Linked DNA regions of Homo sapiens: region 2 is linked to region 1. The links are contacts of gene promoters, found by promoter capture Hi-C in blood cells and fetal thymus (Javierre and others, 2016). All regions are on one chromosome and are shown on one strand. Each heading gives the region's core, a stretch centred on a gene start or on the middle of the fragment in contact. The rest is flanking DNA. Distances are from core to core; before and after follow the strand shown. Region 1 holds the start of PTPMT1 (protein tyrosine phosphatase mitochondrial 1). Region 2 overlaps CELF1 (CUGBP Elav-like family member 1).

Evidence for each region. The method cuts DNA at HindIII sites, captures the fragments that hold promoters and counts their contacts. A CHiCAGO score of 5 or more calls a contact.
Region 2: a fragment that was not itself captured here is called in contact with the fragment with the promoter of PTPMT1 in region 1 in 4 of 17 cell types (M2 macrophages, M1 macrophages, M0 macrophages and 1 more); the score reaches 8.1 in M2 macrophages.

Annotation. Positions count from the first base shown.
Region 1 is chr11:47,564,226-47,567,853 of GRCh38, reverse strand. PTPMT1 (protein tyrosine phosphatase mitochondrial 1) reads right to left here and starts at 2,255. Exons shown (of 4, transcript NM_175732.3): 1 at 2,058-2,255; 2 at 1,868-1,948. The coding sequence starts at 2,231. It also overlaps a transcript of CELF1 not described here. RefSeq lists silencers at 1,744-1,823, 1,954-2,433 and enhancers at 1,743-2,243, 2,244-2,744. The HindIII fragment of the contact is 17,352 bases long and covers 1-3,628 here.
Region 2 is chr11:47,480,486-47,484,470 of GRCh38, reverse strand. It overlaps CELF1 (CUGBP Elav-like family member 1), which reads left to right. Exons shown (of 15, transcript NM_001376376.1): 7 at 1-82; 8 at 939-1,018; 9 at 1,615-1,776. Among named protein-coding and RNA genes, the nearest start is that of RAPSN, 33 kb to the right of the region's middle. The HindIII fragment of the contact is 9,324 bases long and covers 1-3,985 here.

The DNA.
Region 1 (3,628 bases), core at 1,006-3,505:
GGTGTGGTGGCTCACGCCTGTAATCCCAGATTTTGAGAGGCCAAGGTGGGCAGATCACCTGAGGTCAGGAGTTCGAGACGACTTTGGCCAGCATGGCAAAACCCTATCTCCATAAAAAATACAAAAATTAGCCAGGCATGCTGGCAGGCACCTGTAATTCCAGCTACTTGGGAGGCTGAGGCAGGAGAATCACTTGAACTGGGAGGCAGAGGTTGCAGTGAGCTGAGATTGCACCATTGCACTCCAGCCTGGGCAAGGGAGTGAGACTCCATCTCAAAAAAAAAAAAAAAAAAAGAAAAGAAATAGAAATAAGGTCTCTGGCAACTGGGCAAACTTTATGCTTTAAGACTTCAGATATGCTCCAGCTACTCTTGTTATTAACCTCTTAATAATGAGTATCAGAGACTTTATGGTTCTAAATGAAGATCAGTAATTCTTTTTTTTTTTTGAGACGGAGACTCACTCTGTCGCCCAGGCTGGCGTGCAGTGGTGCAATCTCGGCCCACTGCAACTTCTGCCTCCCGGGTTCAAGCGATTCTCCTGCCTCAGCCTCCCAAGTAGCTAGGATTACAGGCGCCTGCCACCACGCCCGGCTAATTTTTTTGTGTGATTTTAGTACAGACGGGGTTTCACCATTTTGGCCAGGCTGATCTCAAACTCCTGACCTCAGGTGATCCACCCACCTCAGCCTCCCAAAGTGCTGGGATTACAGGTGTGAGAGCCACCACGCCTGGCCAAGTCACAAATATTTTCAAGGTTTCAAAAAAATCCTCAGGTTGAAATAATAGTATCTTCATCATGCTATATCAGTAAAACAAATGAGAAAGATAATTGTTTAGTGCTATTAGATGCCAAACGCTATAAAGATAGGGCAACATTAAAAAAAAATCAAATAGCTCAGATTGTAGATAACATCTTCTAATAACCATTGTGGAAGATTCCACAAACAGGCCAGTCACATTTAATGAAAGTTATGTTTTAGGCCTAAACTTTGTTATGAGAGAACTTTGGAGTTCCACCATGATTTCTAATATATGACTAAAAATTCCCCCAAATCAGAGCCAAATGAACTCTACAGTTTTCAATGGATAGTTTTATGAAAAATCTGGGGAGGGGAGAGTGTTAAGGGGGTGCTTTTCGTCTTACAGTTGGCAGGGCCTTCATCTGGAATCCCTAACACTGGGAATGCTGACCCATACTCAGAGCTCAAAGTATAGAAAGAATGAATGAAATCAGGAAGGCATGGGAAAGTTGCCTTTCAATTTTAGTTTCTGATTTTGGTTACCGAAATAAGAATACATTACATTTGTTCACAAAGGAGAAATCAGGCTTTGTCAACTTCCACTTTTTTTTTTTTTTTTTTTGAGACATTGTTTCACTCCTGTCGCCCAAGGCTGGGCTGGAATGCAATGGCGAGATGTCGGCTCACTGCAACCTCCACCTCCCGGGCTAAAGTGATTCTCCTGCCTTAGCCTCCCAAGTAGCTGGGAGTACAGGCGCACGCCACCACTCCCGGCTACTTTTTGTATTTTTGTAGGGACGGGGGCCTCGCCATGTTGCCCAGGCTGGTCAGGAACTCCTGGGCTCAAGTGATCTGCCCGCCTCCTCCTCCCGCCTCCCAAAGTGCTGGGATTACAGGCGTGAGTCCCCGCGCCCGGCCCAACTTGAACTTTTAAATAAACGCCTTTCACAGCTTCTAGCCTACCTCCAGGTGCCATTTAGAGGCACAGACCGGAGGCAAAGCAGCTTGAGACACCTGGCTCCGGTGCATGGTGACCTCCCCCACACTTCTCTAGCCGTCCCAGGCTCAGGGCGGTGGGCGAGGGGGAGCGGGCCCCCGAGCCTGCCCCTCGGCCCGGTCCCTCACCTGTGAAGAGTTGCACAGGAACCTCGTCTCGTACTCCTCGTTCATGGTGATCACCCCGCGCACGTTCTCGTCCTGTACCAGCTGCCGAGGCAAAGAGGTGGCTCAGCAAAGACGGTGGAGACCCCAGCGGCCCGACAGGGACGGAGCGGCGGGGACGGGGCAGGGGCCCGGGCTCCCCGGCCCGGCTCACCTGGCGCGTCAAGCTCCGCAACGGCAGCGCGCCCAGCAGCACGGTGGGGTCGATGCGGTGGTACCAGTCCCGGTGCGCCCGACCCGGCACCTTCCCGCGGAACAGGGTGTAGAGCAGCGTCGGGTAGAAGAGCACCCGCGCCAGGCCGGCCTCCAGCAGCGCGGTGGCCGCCATCCCGGCCCGGCGCAGCGGCGACCCGTCGGCCCCCGCGCTCGCGGTCCGGACCCGCGAGAAGAGCAGGCGGGTGCCGGGGCGGGGCTGCCAGCTGCACTAGGCCTCTCGCGGGCTCGCACCGGGTGACGGCGGGGACTGGCCTGGACTCTGGGGGACTGGCGGGACTCTGGAGGAGGGCCCGGCGGCCTCGGAGGAGGGACCGAGGTTTCCTGGGCGGGAAACTGGGACCCCGGCGAAGGGAGAGCGCGTCGCAGGCCAGACACGTGTGAGCCCTGTAGCGTGGGAAACTGAGGCCCCCGCCTGTGGCCGGTGACCTCCCTCCTCCGAGGGAGGGGGGTTGTGACCCCAGGTGAGAGGGGCAGGAAGGACCCCTGCGTGTGGAACTGTGACTCCGGCCGAGGGAGGAGGGGACACTCCCCCCAACCCTCGACCAGAGGAAGGGGGCAGTGACCCAGGTGCGGGTGTGACCCCGCCAAAGGGAAGACAAGACAAGGAGAGGCTGTGTGGCGGGGTAGCCCTGAAGAGGACAGTGGAAGGGCTTAGAGCTTTCAAACAGAGGAGCTACCTGGGTGAGGGCCTGATCCCAGGGTGAACAGGGGTCCTGGGTTGAGGTCGCCTTCCTCCTCCCCTCCCCTGTCCTAGGGCAGGGCTCCCTCCTTCATCTGACCAAACAGCAGTGTTTACATAGCAGGAAAAAATAGGAAAATATACATTATATTAATATATCCTTAAGAAAAATATTATGAAGAGCTCAAATATAAAACCTGCAACCTACAAAAAGGTAAGAAGAATGGTTGTAATGCCAGCTATTTACTTTTTGTTTGTTTGTTTTGAGACGGAGTCTCACTCTGTTGCCCAGGCTAGAGGGCAGTCGCAAGATCTCAGCTCACTGCAACCTCCGCCTCCCGGGTTCAAACGATTCTCCTGCCTCAGCCTCCTGAGTAGCTGGGATTACAGGTGCATGCCACCACACCCAGCTAACTTTTGTTTTTAGTAGAGACGAGGTTTCACCTTGTCAGCCAGGCTGGTCTCGAACCTAAGGTGATCCGCCCACCTCAGCCTCCCAAAGTGCTGGCATTACAGGCATGAGCCACTGCACCCGGCCCAAGCATCTGGTGGAGTTTTTGTTTTTTGTTTTTTGTTTTTGAGACAGAGTTTCACTATTGTCACCCAAGCTGCAGTGCAATGGCGTGATCTCAGCACACTGCAACCTCTGCCTCCCAGGTTCAAGCAATTCTCCTGCCTCAGCCTCCCGAGTAGCTGGGATTACAGGTACATGTCACCACGCCCAGCTAAGTTTTGTATTTTTAGTGAGATGGCTTCAACATGTTGACCAGGCTGGTCTCAAACTCCTGACCTCAGGTGATCCATCCCCCTGGCCTCCCAAAGTGCCAGGA
Region 2 (3,985 bases), core at 86-2,585, 82 kb after region 1:
AATGACATCCGAGTCATGTTCTCTTCGTTTGGACAGATTGAAGAATGCCGGATATTGCGGGGACCTGATGGCCTGAGCCGAGGTAGGTAGTTTTAGCTTTTAAATAATCTTTTGGTTTTTTGTTTTGGTTTGGTTTGGGGTTTTTTTTTTTTTGGAGACAAGGTCTTGCTCTCTCTCACCCAGGCTGGAGTGCAGTGGTGCCTTCACAACTCACTGCAGCCTGAACCTCCCAGGATCAGCCTCCTGAGTAGCTGGGACCACAGGCATGCATCATGACACCCAGCTAATTTTTAAATTTTTTATAGAGAAAAGGTCTCCCTGTGTTGCCCAGGCTGGTCTTGAACTCCTGGACTCAAACGATCCTGTCATCTTGGCCTCCCAAAGTGCCAGGATTGTAGGTGTGAGCCACTGCACCGGGCTTGGAATCTTTTTAATTTGACCGGTGGAAACTAGCAACAGTGATTCCCTAGCCAATATGGCCCAGTCAAGATAAAGAGGTTGGGCCTGCTGCTTCCTGCTGTATATCTATGTCCTGTCTTGACTCCTCCTATCAGTTCATTCTTTTTGTCTCCCAGCCCCTCTAAGGAGTCTACATTCTATATTTCATTGTCATGTATTAAAATTTTCTCTTTTGGTGCTTTGCAAGATCCTTGATGCCAAAATGGAAATACTTTCTTCTTCCATTTTCTTTTATTTTCAAGAGGAACTAGAGGATATGAGTCCTCCTTTCTCCTGTCAAGCATTTTTTTTTTCTGTCAGTGGTTCTGTTTTTTCATTATAGCACATATCACCCTGTTGCAACATACCAGCACATGATTCCCTGAAAACAGGGACTGTGTCTGTATTGCTAGCATGATAGTCAGCACATAGTAGGTGCTCAGTTAATGTTTGTCAGAGAAATAAATGAATGCATGAGTTACTGACTCTTCTCTTACCAGGTTGTGCATTTGTGACTTTTACAACAAGAGCCATGGCACAGACGGCTATCAAGGCAATGCACCAAGCACAGACCATGGAGGTAGGGAGCAGATAGGTGATGGGGAAAATTCCTCAGCTTGGGAATGCTGGGACAGTTGGCCATTAAAGTCCAGCAGCATGTGCAGCATCTGATTGCCCAGAAGGTTAAACAGCCAACATCTTAAAGTTAAAAACCACTGATTTCTTTAAAATTAACGTATTGGAAATGCTCTCCCTACCCCTTTTTTTGAGATGGGGTCTTACTTTGTCACCTGGGCTGGAGTGCAGTGGGAATATCATGGCTCACTGCAGCCCCAACCACCCAGGCTCAAGTGATCCCCCCTACCTCTGCCACTCAAGTAGCTGGGACTACAGGTGCACACCAGCACGCCCAGTTAATTTTTGTATTTTTTTTTAATAGCGACCGTTTTGCCATGTTGCCCAGGCTGGTCTAAAATTCCTGGGCTCAAGTGATCCACCCGCCTCAGCCTCCCAAAGTGTTGGGATTACAGTCTCTTCTCTCTTGTGTCTATCATGAGGAGAATCATTTGGCAGTGAATGAAATTAGAATGTAACCTGCATGTCATCCAAAAGGAAGATTTTTTTTCTTCTTTTCAGATGGAGGAATTTGACCCTTTCGTTATGGTCTTTTCACAGGGTTGCTCATCACCCATGGTGGTAAAATTTGCTGATACACAGAAGGACAAAGAACAGAAGAGAATGGCCCAGCAGCTCCAGCAGCAGATGCAGCAAATCAGCGCAGCATCTGTGTGGGGAAACCTTGCTGGTCTAAATACTCTTGGACCCCAGTATTTAGCAGTGAGTCTTTGTGGTTTGCTTTCTGCAGACTGTGCAAGCTCCCAGCTGTTCCTTCTTCTGCTGTCCCTAGCCAACAAACACAGTGGCATTTACAACTTTTGGCATATAGAAATTATATGTAAAAATTCAGGTAGTACTATTTCTTTTAGTCCTGTTAGTCTCTTTCTCTCTCTATATATATGTATCTCTGGACATGCATCTCTGGTTATATCTTGAGGCTTTTGCTGCAACTAAAGTGAATTCCTGGTTTCCCGTTTTAAAGATTTAGAAACATCTTGTGTCCTTGCCTCCAAGAAAGAAATTCCTGAGGGAATCTTAACTACCAGTGTCTTTCTCCATATCTCTTTCTACCAGATGTAGAGGGCATCATTAAAATCCTTATTGAGTCTTTCCTAAAGAGTATGATAAATGTTTCTTTCAGCGGACTTGAGAGATCAAGAGATTTTTTTTCTTTTTTTGCTTTATTTATTTATTTATTTATTTATTTTTTGAGACGGAGTCTCACTCACTCTGTCACCCAGGCTAGAGTGCAGTGGCACAATCTTGGCTTACTGCAACCTCCACCTCGGGTTCAAGTGATTCTCCTGCCTCAACTTCCCAAGTAGCTGGGACTACAGACACACACCATCACACCCAGCTAATTTTTGTATTTCTAGTAGGGATGGGCTTTCACTGTGTTGGCCAGGCTGGTCTCGAACTCACGACCTCAGGTGATCCACCTGTCTTGGCCTCCCAAAGTGCTGGGTTTACAGGTGTGAGCCACTGCGCCTGGCGGAGATCAAGAGATTAACATGAACATTTTTAAATGAGCATTACAGGTGTATATTCAAGTTTACTACATTGTAAATAGACTTCCTTTAATTTGATCTCTCTGTTGTCGTGAGCCAAAAGAAGGTTGTCTAGTCCAAAAGAAGGTCTCGCCCCAATTTGTGATTTAGATTTACTAGGTCTGCAGTGTATATGTTACAGGGGATTATTAATGGAAAAGAATTGGGCCAGCACAAGACAGTTAAAACCACCCATTTGTGAGTCAAAGAGGAAAAAGGTCATCTTAGGCTATTAATGGTGAAACCACTAGATTTGTATGGATGATACAAAAATATTCACATAGAAATAGCTAGTATAGTCATTTATTCCTCATCATTTCAAGTATTATTCTGTATGGAAACAGACAAAAGGCACTGATTTCTGTCTCCCAGTACTGAATTTTGGTTTAGTTCCAGTGGTTTTCATATTTCTAATATCTTATAAGAAATCCCAGTTTAGGCCGGGCGCTGTGACTCACGCCTGTAATCCCAACACTTTGGGAGGCTGAGGTGAGTGGATCGCCTGAGGTTGGGAGTTTGAGACCAGCCTGGCCAGCATGGTGAAACCCTGTCTATACTAAAAATACAAAAAAATTACATGGGTGTGGTGGCAGGTGCCTGTAATCCCAGCTGCTCGGGAAGCTGAGGCAGGAGAATGGCTTGAACCTGGGAGGCGGAGGTTGCACTGAGCGGAGGTTGCAGTGAGCCAAGATCGCACCATTGCACTCCAGCCTGGGCAATAGAGCGAGACTCTGTCTCACAAAAAAAAAAAAAAAAAAAAAAAAAGAAGAAGAAAAAAAAAAAAAACCCCAGTTTATCCTAGCTAGTATTTCTCTGAAGTTTTTTTAAAAAAATATAAAGAGTTGGGGTTGTTTTGTTTTGTTTTGTTTTGAAGCCTCGCTCTGTTGCCCAGGTTGGAAAACAGTGGCGCAATCTCTGCTCACTGCAACCTCCAACTGCAAGCAGCTGGGATTACAGTCATGTGCCACCACGCCTGGCTAATTTTTGTAGTTTTAGTAGAGACAGGGTTTTGCTTATGTGAGCCAGGCTGGTCTCAAACTCCCGACCTCAAGTGATTTGCCTACCTTGCCCTCCCAAAGTTCTGGGATTACAGGCGTGAACCACTGGGTCCGGTTATATTTCAACAGAAAAAATTGTTTCTTAGTGCTGAAACATTGCTTATATGTTCAGAAAATTCAGGGAGGTTTTAGTCATCTGCAGAAATGATAATGCTTTGAAAATGGTCTACATGCTATGCATTTGCTTTTCTTAGAGACTTTTGGAGCCCCCCTTTAGGGAAGGTTAACCTTTTTGTTGTCATTGCCACTACCAGCAAGTACATGATGGCATGTGTTGAGAGCTGTGTTCTCTTTGTTTTGGTTAGACATGATTCCTGCCCTAAG